3 separate regions of the Homo sapiens genome follow, and all the other regions are linked to region 1. Evidence: promoter capture Hi-C in 16 types of primary human blood cells and fetal thymus (Javierre and others, 2016). All regions are on one chromosome and are shown on one strand. The core of a region is centred on a gene start or on the middle of the fragment in contact, and the rest is flanking DNA. Distances in the headings are between cores, read along the strand shown.

Evidence for each region. The method cuts DNA at HindIII sites, captures the fragments that hold promoters and counts their contacts. A CHiCAGO score of 5 or more calls a contact.
Region 2: a contact is called between the fragment with the promoter of TMEM107 here and the fragment with the promoter of EIF4A1 in region 1, in 1 of 17 cell types (activated CD4 T cells). The highest score is 5.5, in activated CD4 T cells.
Region 3: a contact is called between the fragment with the promoter of CTC1 here and the fragment with the promoter of EIF4A1 in region 1, in 1 of 17 cell types (naive CD4 T cells). The highest score is 5.2, in naive CD4 T cells.

What each region holds. Positions count from the first base shown.
Region 1 is chr17:7,570,858-7,574,264 of GRCh38, reverse strand. It overlaps EIF4A1 (eukaryotic translation initiation factor 4A1), which reads right to left and starts at 1,440. Exons shown (of 11, transcript NM_001416.4): 1 at 1,401-1,440; 2 at 1-5. The coding sequence starts at 1,423. It overlaps SENP3 (SUMO specific peptidase 3), which reads right to left. Exons shown (of 11, transcript NM_015670.6): 10 at 3,332-3,382; 11 at 2,296-2,892. The coding sequence ends at 2,782. It overlaps SENP3-EIF4A1 (SENP3-EIF4A1 readthrough (NMD candidate)), which reads right to left. Exons shown (of 22, transcript NR_037926.1): 10 at 3,332-3,382; 11 at 2,786-2,892; 12 at 1,401-1,981; 13 at 1-5. RefSeq lists enhancers at 83-212, 1-430, 431-1,186, 1,693-1,762, 1,883-1,942 and 2 more and silencers at 353-492, 1,393-1,452, 1,463-1,522. The HindIII fragment of the contact is 10,998 bases long and covers 1-3,407 here.
Region 2 is chr17:8,174,491-8,178,161 of GRCh38, reverse strand. It overlaps TMEM107 (transmembrane protein 107), which reads left to right and starts at 1,782. Exons shown (of 5, transcript NM_183065.4): 1 at 1,782-1,962; 2 at 2,136-2,203; 3 at 2,305-2,405; 4 at 3,546-3,642. The coding sequence starts at 1,876. LOC105371520 (a long non-coding RNA gene) reads right to left here. Exons shown (of 4, transcript NR_188261.1): 2 at 3,288-3,386. RefSeq lists enhancers at 1,485-1,604, 1,020-1,631, 1,785-1,834, 1,905-1,994, 2,155-2,204 and 3 more. The HindIII fragment of the contact is 13,203 bases long and covers 1-3,671 here.
Region 3 is chr17:8,245,831-8,249,305 of GRCh38, reverse strand. It overlaps CTC1 (CST telomere replication complex component 1), which reads left to right and starts at 1,250. Exons shown (of 23, transcript NM_025099.6): 1 at 1,250-1,302. The coding sequence starts at 1,270. It overlaps PFAS (phosphoribosylformylglycinamidine synthase), which reads right to left and starts at 17. Exons shown (of 28, transcript NM_012393.3): 1 at 1-17. RefSeq lists enhancers at 1-589, 714-833, 1,314-1,453 and a silencer at 1,174-1,223. The HindIII fragment of the contact is 6,585 bases long and covers 1-3,475 here.

The DNA.
Region 1 (3,407 bases), core at 191-2,690:
TGGATCTGTTGGTTTAAAGCATAAGTTTTGTCCCCTGCCCGACCGAAGCACTCAGAAATCCTGACAGCCGGGCTCTGTCAGGAGTGGCCTGCATGATGCCATCAATCTGCTGTCCCAGATCCAACTCCCACCAGCTCCCAAAAAATACCCAAAGGAGGAGTTTCTATAAAACTGAGGCATTTGCCCCATGCAGGCAGCGGCTCAGGCCAGGCCACCCCCGACATAAGGGGGTGACCCTTTCTGAAGACAGGCCGGCAGGCGTGCCGCCGCGCTCACGGTGCCCAGAGGTGGTGCTTGCCGCCGGGTCCACGTGGGCCCGACCCAGCCGCTTAAAGCCCAAGCGCGTGCACCTCCCACCGCAGCACCAGCGCGCTGGAAGTCCCGCCCTTCACCTCCCAGATCGGAGGGTAGGACATCCCCTTCCCCCCACGTCATCCCGCCCGCGCCCTCCCCCACTCCCTCCAGCCGAAGCCCCCCCCTCGCGTTGCCCGGATGTGGGAGGCCGCGGGCGGTGGCGGCCTCGCGCACAATGAGCCCAAGCCGAGCTAGCAAAGGGGGAGATTGCACAACACTTAGAAGCGAAGCAGACTGGGGGAGGGGAACGCCTCAGGCCACCATGTGCTCGCTCCCTCGACCACCCGGCGGCGTCTCCCACCCCTCCATGAACAATCCACATCCCGCCCGCCCCCGTCGCGAAGTAGCGTCGCCCTCCCATACCTCAGGCCGCTCACCCCCGAAGGAAGGTGGACCTGCCCATCCGCAGTTTGCCAATAGCCCGGCTTGTGCGGCAAAATGGACCCGCCCGCCCGGCGCCGGGTGGGCTCCTGGTGCCTCACGCGGCCGCTCCTCGGGGTTAGGCTCAGTCCTGGCCGTCAAGAAAACCAGCACACTGAACGGCCGGTTTCTTCTCCCCGACCCGTGTTTTAGCCGCGACGAAGTGACTGGATCTAAGGACCAGGCACCCCCGCCTCTCGCGAGTGGTACCGTCAGAATGCTCCGGAACCCCGCGCGCCGTCCCTCCCCCGGCACAGGGAGGCAACCGGACCTGCCGGCTCTGGGCCACACATAGTGGCGGCCGCCTCCACCTTTCTTTCCCACGCCAGGTCGCGACCCCGTCTCGCCACTCAGCGCCGGGGCTTCGCGCATGGCACCGCCTCGGGTCGAGGCCTCGTAACAGACCTCGCACGCCTGACCCTAGCCGGGCTGTCCCTACCCTCCGCCTCGACCTGGTGGCCGCGTCGGCCGTGGGTCTTCCCCCTCGCCCCTCCAAGTCGGACCCTCCCCCCACCCGGTTCGGTTTCTCCCGCAACCCTGGTGGGCCTCTCAGCTACCCCCGGCGGGCCCGTCGGAAGGGGGCGGCAAAATAAGCAGCCACAATCTCTTGCAAATGCCTTTCTTACCGGGAATCCTGGCTCGCAGACATGATCCTTAGAAACTAGGGCGGAGTGCCCGCCTATCGACAACTTATAGAGCGCCCGACTCCGCCCCGGCCATCGCATTGGTTTGGCCGCCCCGGCCCCGCCTGCCGGCGCTCAGCAACTCGGCATGACGTTAGTTCCTAGTCGCTCCGGCCCGCAGGCACCATTGGATAACTCGAGTGCCTATCAAGGTGAAGGCCCGCCCCGCAGCCTCATTGGCTGGAGGGCCCGCCTTTCTCGCCGGTACGGAAGTGACATAGAAGAGTCAGGCCTCGAGGCCTGGCAGCCATCTTGGGGCCCTGCACTCTCACACGTGCGGAGGCGACAGTGCCTTGGTCATGTGGCTCCGTAGGCCCTATCACGCAAGGGGGGCGAGGTCTCAGCCTCCAGAGGCTTCCGGGCTCTGGGGGTTATCACTTCCCTTTACTTCTGCTCCCGGTCTCCACTGGACTCAAATGTTATTTGTTTTCCCCTGTAGCAGAGATGGATTCGACACTGCCTGGACGTGTGCCAGGGATGAAGGAATCAACAGCGATATCGTAGGGATGGGAGGATTCCCCTGGCTGGATGGTGGAGGGATGGAAGAAAACTGTAAAGGGCTTTGGGGTACTATCATGAATCCTGGTTGGTCCCCTCCCCAGTCCCTTGTGTCCAGTTCCCCAGCTTCCCTCTCGGATGCCCTTATTCTTGAGGCTTATCTACTTTCCCTCCTTCCTGCTCTCTGCTCCCATCTCGGGGATTTGTTTGGGTGAAGACAAGGTGTTGGCAGTGCCTGAGCCAGGGATGGAAAGCTGAACCCTTTAGTCTCAAGAGACTGGCTGGAAGGTCTGAGCTAAGCATATCCACTAATTTGAAGCCCCTTAAGGAAGACCACCACTTACGTATCAACAAAGGATCCTTTATTGACCAGAGCAGGACCGTGGCATTTATATATTTTTATATATATATATATATATATATATATATATATATATATATATATATATATATATATATATATATATATATAAAAGTTTGAAGATCTGGCAGGCAGTGATCCTATTGTCCGCCCACCACCCCCAGCACTGATTTCCTGCTCCCTGCACGGGGAAGGGGGAGGATGACTGCTCCACCCAGGCCACAGGGCCACACTCCCCTGCAAACAGAGGAAGAAAGGGGCTTTTCTGTAGCCACCCCCTGCACATCAGAAATCAACAAGTATTCTCTCAAAGAAAAAAAAATACAGAAATTGAAACATTTAAATATGAAAAACCAAAGGGAAGTGAGTGGGAAGAGGCAAGAGAGGAAAGGAACTGGAGTTTCTTGGGAAGGGACTCCCATGTCTCCCTTCCCATTTATGGGCTTGGGGTCTGGGGTACGAGGCTCACACAGTGAGTTTGCAGTGACACAGCTCCTTGTAGATCTGCCGACGAAGTTTGGGCATGTCCTGCTGGGTGAAGCTGAATGGCTGAGACAGGGCCAGATGCTTGCAGTACTGGGTGTTAACAAAGCAAGCCATGAGAAACCCCCCGTGTCAGGACCTGTGCTACACATTTCATATGAGATGTGTCTCCATCCTTCAGAGAACATCCCCAAAGGGAGCCAGGGTCCCACAGCCTGGGGTTCAAAAACAGCCTGACTCTAAAGCTAGTGTTCTTACTTGATAGAATGTTTTAGATGGAGAAAATACACTGAGTTGGAGGTTAGCAGGGAGCTCTATGAAGGCCAGAGGCCCAAGACTAGAGACCCAGTCCCAATGTGGGATGGAGAAGTCCAGAAGAGAACCAGTGAAGCCAGTGTTTTGGTGTTCTAAAACAGATTACTTCCTGCTCCACAACTGACTATGAGCCAAATGAGGGGATGCATAACAGCCTCCCGACCCTTTAACCCAACTGACTTCAGAGCTAGGGGAGGTGGCCCCATCATCTGCTTACCTGCAACACAAAAGCACCACAGTCACTGTCATTATTCTGCCTGGCCACATTCTAGAGAAGAGAAAGAAAGCAGGCC
Region 2 (3,671 bases), core at 533-3,032, 600 kb before region 1:
GCAGGAGATCGAGACCATCCTGGCTAACACAGTGAAACTCCGTCTCTCCTAAAAACACAAAAAATTAGCCGGGCATGGTGGCGAGCGCCTGTAGTCCCAGCTACTCAGGAGGCTGAGACGGGAGAATGGCGTGAACCCGGGAGGCCGAGCTTGCAGTGAGCCGAAATTGCGCCACTGCACTCCAGCCTGGGAGACAGAGCGAGACTCCGTCTCAGAAAAAGTAAATAAATAAAATAAAACAAAATAAATGCTCTATTTTAATAGAATTATAAATGCCCTATTTTTATAGAATTATAATTCTAGCGTTTCTTTTTTTTTTGGAGACGGAGTTGCGCTCTTGTTGCAGAGGCTGGAGTGCAATGGCGCGATCTCGGCTCACTGCAACCTCCACCTCCTGGGTTCAAGCGATTCCCATGCCTCAGCCTCCCGAATAGCTGGGATTACAGGCACGCGCCACCACGCCCGGCTAATTTTGTATTTTTAGTGGAGACAGGGTTTCAGCATGTTGGTCAGTCTGGTCTCGAGCTCCTGACCTCAGGTGATCCGCCCTCCTAGGCCTCCTAAAGCGCTGGGATTACAGGTGTGAGCCACAGTGCACAGCCCGCTTTTCCCTGTTTGTAGCGCCTATTATCTTACGGATTTATTTGTTTGCATGTCTGTTGTTGATCTCCCTGACTAGAATACCCTTACTAGGTAATCAATAAACATATACAAATATTTGTTGAAGGAATGAGAAATGCCTCTTGGGCTTGTAGTTTAGGCTGGCTAAAAGCACTGAGATGGGGAGTGGGGAGTAGGAAGAGATTGTTCTCCTGGGAGATGGGCCGGGAGGTTCCTTGAGGATGGGACTTGACTCAGCAATTAAAGAACTTTCAGATCTGCAGGGACCTGCGCTGAGGCCCAAAGGTCATGAGGTCGCCGATGATAAGAGCTTCTTGGACTGTAGCTGGGCAATGTCGGAGGCCCAGCACCTCCAAGGGACAAAGAAATCTGAGTTGAGTTTCCCTTCCAGCCGGCTCCAAGCCTCCCAGAGACGCAGGGACTGTCCCATTCCCTTCGTCCACTCCCACTCTTTCCAGCCACCTTGCTCTGCTCTTATCCCCATGCTAGTTTAAGGACGCTGGCCATTTTTTGCACTCTGCAAATCCCTCACCAAACTGAGCAAAGTAGTCTGAAAGAAATCAGTCTTCCTCAAGGAAGGTTCAGGCCTGGGGTCCTCAGACAACCAGGGGCTCCGTGACAATCTGTGACTGCAGAGCAGTCCAGGAACACCGGCCTCTCCAGGTTCGGGTCCCTTGTTTCTCAGGCCCAGCTTGGTGGGAAGCTAAAGGCATGCAGAGGAGGGGAAGGGGAGCGGGTCTGAGTCTTCGGCATGGCGGGGAACTCAGCCCGGCGTGGTGGTGGCAGCGGTCTCAAGTGATCCACAACTGGGCAGCGTAGCTGGGGCTGGGGGCCGCTCCCGGCGTGGGCAACAGCAGAAGCATTGGTGTCCCCAAGCTAGGCCAGGGTGGGTTTCCGTTCATCCGCCCTGCGTGGGCAGATCGGGCGCTGCGGGGCTGTGCCACCTCGCACCCTCTGAGGAACAAAGGGCCTGGCTGCGCGCGGGTACCCAGCCGTTAGGTTAGAAGCGCCTTCGGGTACCCCTGACCTTCGCTGGCCCTGAGAGACCCGCAGCAGCCGGAGAATGTACTGCTCGCGAGGATTTCCGAGAACGCGGCGCCGAGCCCGCGTACACGGTTACCAAGGCAACTGGGCGGTGCCTGAGCGGGCGGGAAGGAGGCGTTCGTCTAGATTTGTCGGCTTGCGGGGAGACTTCAGGAGTCGCTGTCTCTGAACTTCCAGCCTCAGAGACCGCCGCCCTTGTCCCCGAGGGCCATGGGCCGGGTCTCAGGGCTTGTGCCCTCTCGCTTCCTGACGCTCCTGGCGCATCTGGTGGTCGTCATCACCTTATTCTGGTCCCGGGTAAGACCCACGGCTGCACTCAATCCGTCCCCATTCCCATCTCTGAGTGGTCCTAGTCCTACCCTGCCCCCTCCCAGTGTCTTACCCTCTTGGGTTTTCTTGTTTCCCGCCGCCCCCAGGCCTGCCCTGCAGCCTGCCCCTTTTTCACTTCTCTTCCTGTGCCCTGCTCCCAGGACAGCAACATACAGGCCTGCCTGCCTCTCACGTTCACCCCCGAGGAGTATGACAAGCAGGACATTCAGTGAGCTCTTGGGACGGGGTGGCCAGAACGAAGAGGTGGTGGGAGTGGAGGGGTCTTAGAATAAGTCCAAAGGCCTGGGCCAGTCCACTTCCTCTCTGCAGGCTGGTGGCCGCGCTCTCTGTCACCCTGGGCCTCTTTGCAGTGGAGCTGGCCGGTTTCCTCTCAGGAGTCTCCATGTTCAACAGCACCCAGAGCCTCATCTGTATCCTTTCTGCCTGCCCACCTTTCCCACACGACCCACTTCTATCAGGACTCCCTTCAGCCACCTGACACAATAGTGTCTGCTGTAGCCAATCCTTCCAGTTCAAAGATCTTCAACGATGTGCTAAATCCTGCTGTTTACTAGGCACTTAAAATCCCAAAATGAGAGTAAAATACAGTTTTTGGCCAGGCATGTTGGCTCACGTCTGTAATCCCAGCACTGTGGGAGGCGCAGGCAGGAGGCAACATAGTGAGAACCCAAGTCTACAAAAATAATAGGAATAATAAAAACCCCACCGTTTCTTTTTACAATGAGGAGGAGGTAGATACAAATCTGTAATTCAGTGTGATAAGCACTGTGCTATAGAAGTGTGTGAAGATAGAAAGCACAGGCAGGGCGCGATGGCTCACGCATGTAATCCCAGCACTTTGGGAGGCCGAGGCAGGTGGACCACCTGAGGTCAGGAGTTCGAGACCGGCCTGACCAACATGGTGAAACCCCCGTCTCTACTAAAAATACAAAAATTAGTCGGGCGTGGCGGCGCACTCCTGTAATCCCAGCTACTCAGGAGACTGAGGAAGGAGAATTGCTTGAACCCGGGAGGCAGAGGTTGCAGTGAGCTGAGATCGTGCCACTGCACTCCAGCCAGGGCAACAGAGCAAGACTCTGTCAAAAAACAAACAAAAGATATAAAGCACAATGGGAACTCAGAAGAGGCAACGGAAGCGAGCACTGGGAACTCAGAAGAGGCAAAGGAGATGAGGCACATGGGTCAGAGAATTGTGGACCAGGAGGACCAGGACACTGGAGGCTGATTCCAGCGCATATTAAGTCGCTGTCAGCACTCCTTTGTGGCATAGCAGAAGGAGAGCCTACTCTTACCTCTCATCTGAAGGATCCAGGCTGGCCCACAGATAAGGGGTAGGGTAGCCTGAGGTCCGATCTGTGCAGTCACTTCTGGTCTCTCCTCACATGACTGTCCTAAAATTCAGAAGTCAGAGCTGCTGACTCTAGCCCTTGAAACATGGTGAGGGAGCAAGGGATGAACCTGAATGCAGATGCCAGCCCCACCACTGGCCTTTTCTGACCCATCACTGTCTGTCGATCCAAAGACTTTCCTTAATCTCGTGCCTTCCCAAGCCATTGGGGCTCACTGTAGTGCATCCGTGGCCCTGTCCTTCTTCATATTCGAGCGTTGGGAGTGCACTACGTATTGGTACATTTTTGTCTTCTGCAGGTGTGGTAGCATCCAATATTTGGGGATGA
Region 3 (3,475 bases), core at 1-2,500, 680 kb before region 1:
AATCGTCGCGCGCGTTTGTTACGTCATCCGCGTGCGCCGCGGGCAGAGACTGGACCTGCCAGCGCCGGGGCGACTACGCCCCGCCCACTTTTCCCCAGCCACCCGGCCGAATTCTAGGTTCTTGGTGGGGAGAGGTTTATCCCCAGGTGGTTTCTCCCACAAATCTGTCTTGAACTGACGTTTGTGAAAATACATTCAGTTCCCCGTCCCCGCGGGGACAGTTAAGTAATGACATCAGTTAGTTAAGGCCATAAAGCAAGCATGTGAAAGTTGTGCTTTGGTGGCATTACGAGGAAGCCCTTCTCTGCTTGGCAAGATCAGGGAGACTGAAAGATGCTTAGAAGTCATCCACCAGGCGGGCTGTGTTTGAGTTCCTGAGCTCTGCTACCCCATCCATCTGAAGGCCTGCGGGATGCCGGACAGGATGTCACTTAGGAGGGAGACGGAGGCTGGGCGCGGTGGCTCCCGCCTGTAATCCGAGCACTTTGGGAGCCCGAGGCGGGCAGATCGCTTGAGCCCAGGAGTTCGAGACCAGTCTGGGCAACATGGCGAAACCATGTCGCTACAGAAAAATACAAAAATTAGCCGGGTGTGGCGGTGCAAGCCTGCGATCCCAGCTACTTGGTGGGCTGAGGTGGGAGGATCGCTTGAGCCCGGGAGGTCGAGGCTGCAGTGAACCGAGATGGCGCCGCTGCACTCCAGCCTGGGCGATAGAGCGAGACCTCGTCTCAAAAAAATCAGAGAGGGCCAGGGGCTGTGTTTCACGCCTGTAATCCCAGCACTTTGGGAGGCTGAGGCGGGTGGATCACCTGAGGTCAGGAGTTTGAGACCAGCCTGGCCACATGGTGAAACCCCGTCTCTACTAAAAATACAAAAAAAAAAAAAAAAAAAAAAATTAGCCGGGCGTGGTGGTGGCAGGTGCCTGTAATCCTAGCTACTCAGGAGGCTGAGGCCGGAAAATCCCTTGAACCTGGGAGGCGGGGGTTGCAGTGAGCCGAGATCGCGCCACTGCACTCCAGCCTGGGCGACAGAACCAGGCTTCGTCTTAAAAAAAAAAAAATCAGAGAAAAGAGACAGGGGTGTCGGGAGTTGGGATGGTGCACCGAGGCGCCTCGCGGAGTCTCTAGGAAGCGAGGGGGTGAGCAGCGAGAAGGAGCTGGAGGTGGCGAGGAAACCCGCTCACCGGTGACGTCACCGAGCGCCCCCCCACCCCCATCCCCACCCCCAAGCGAGCACCTGCCCCTCCCGGGGGCGGAGCTCCGGCGCATCATGGCGGCTGGCCGGGCCCAGGTCCCTTCCTCCGTGAGTGCTGCTATTACGTCTCTTGTTCCTTTTTTCTTGTTTGTCACAGATACTCTTTCTCTTCCTATTTCCTCTGCCTTGTCTCTCTGGGCTCGCTGGCCGCGTCCGGCCCATGGGTGAGGGGGTTGTGAGTCGGTCCGCTCCTACCTCTTACTGGTTCTGCGAATGTTTATTCCCTCATTCACGCGGCGCCCGCTGTGAGCCTTAAACTGGTCTCCGTTCACTCTCTAGGGTTTAATCCTGGTGGGAAACCAGGAGCAGGTTAATGGGGGAACTATGGGGCTGTGGGTTCCTGGAGAAGACCCTTGACGGAGCTGTAGGGGAAAAGGGCAACCATAATAAGTAAAAGCGTCTGAGACCCGAAGTGCGTGTAGAAGGCAAAAAGCGCCGAAAGGGGCTGGGTGTGGTGGCTCACGCTTGTAATCCAGCACTGTGGGAGGCGGAGGCGGGCGGATTACTTGAGGTCAGGAGTTCGAGACCAGCCTGACCAACATGGTGAAACCTCATCTCTACTAAAAATACAAAAATTAGCCGGGCGTGGTGGCGCGCACCTGTAATTCCAGCTACTCAGAAGGTTGAGGCAGGAGAATCGCTTGAACCGGGTAGACGGAGGCTGCAGTGAGCTGAGATTGTGCCACAGCACTCCAGCCTGGGCAACAGAGCGAGACTCTGTCAAAAAAAAAAAAAAAAAAAAAAAAGCGCCGGAAGGGGTTTCAGGACGGAAGCAAACACATATTCAAAGGCAGGAGGATAGAGCAGGTGTCTGAAAAACTCAAAAGTTCAGTTGGGTGGTGGTGGAGGGGTCAGAGCTGACAGTTTTGTACCTCTTGCTAAGCAGCGACTTTAACATGAGGGTAATTGGGTGTGGTGGCACACGCCGGTAATCCCAGCTGCTCAGGAAGCTGAGCAGGGAACCACGGAAGTGGAGGTTGCAGTGAGCCGAGATCGCGCCACTGCACTCTAGCCTGGACGACAGAGCCAGACTCCATCTCAAATAAATAAATAAATAAATAAATAAATAAATAAATAAATAAATAAGATGTTAAGAAAATACAATCTAAAGGATTGGTTTGTGTGCGTGTGTGTGTGTGTGTGTTTTGAGACGGAGTCTAGCTTTGTCACCAGGCTGGAGTGCAGTGACGCGATCTCGGCTCACTGCAACCTCTGCCTCCCAGGTTCAAGCGATTCTTCTGCCTCAGCCTCCCGAGTAGCTGGAATTACAGGCATACAGGCACGCGCCGCCATGCCCAGCTCATTTTTGTATTTTTTTTCTTTTTTTTAAGTACAGACGGTGTTTCACCATGTTAGCCAGGATGGTCTCGATCTCCTGACGTCGTGATCTGCCCGCCTTGGCCTCCGAAACTGCTGGGATTACAGGCGTGAGCCACTGCACCCAGCCAGGACTGGGACCTATGTAGGGAAAGGAAGGAGCTAAGGAGGACATCTAGGTTTCAGGATAGAACAACTGTTTGGTTAAGGGTACTATTTGCTAAGTTAGTGAACATAACACTAGAAGAGTTCTAGAAAAGGACAGGGTTTTGTGGAAAGTTCAGTGTTGGGCATGTGTGCTGCCTGTGGATTGGCCATGGAGAGTCTGGCAGATGGATAGGACTAAAGCTCAGGAATGAGATCTCAGCTAAAGTAGACATACAGGAACAATCATCATCTGGCCATGGCTGTTAAACCCATGCAGTGGTTGAGATAATTGTGGGAAAGCATATTGTGTTCTTAAACTTCAGCCTGTATTAATCTGGATCTTCCTCTTCCTCCCTCCTTTTTTTTTTTTTTTTTTTTTTTGAAACAAGGTCTTACTCTGTCACCCAGGCTAGAGTGCAGTGGCACCATCATGGCTCACTGCAGCCTCAACCTCCCTGGGCTCAAGCGATCCTCCCACCTCAGCCTCCCAAGTAGCTGGGACTACTGGCGTGTGCTACCACGCCAGGCTAACCCAGCTAATTTTGAATTGTTTTAGAGTTTCACCATGTTGCCCAGGCGGGTCTCAACCTTCCCAGGCTAAGGTGATCCTCCCACCTCAGCCTCCCAAGTAGCTGGGACTACTGGCATGTGCTACCACGCCAGGCTAATCCAGCTAATTTTGAATTGTTTTAGAGTTTCACCATGTTGCCCAGGCGGGTCTCAACCTTCCCAGGCTCAGGTGATCCTCCCACCTCAG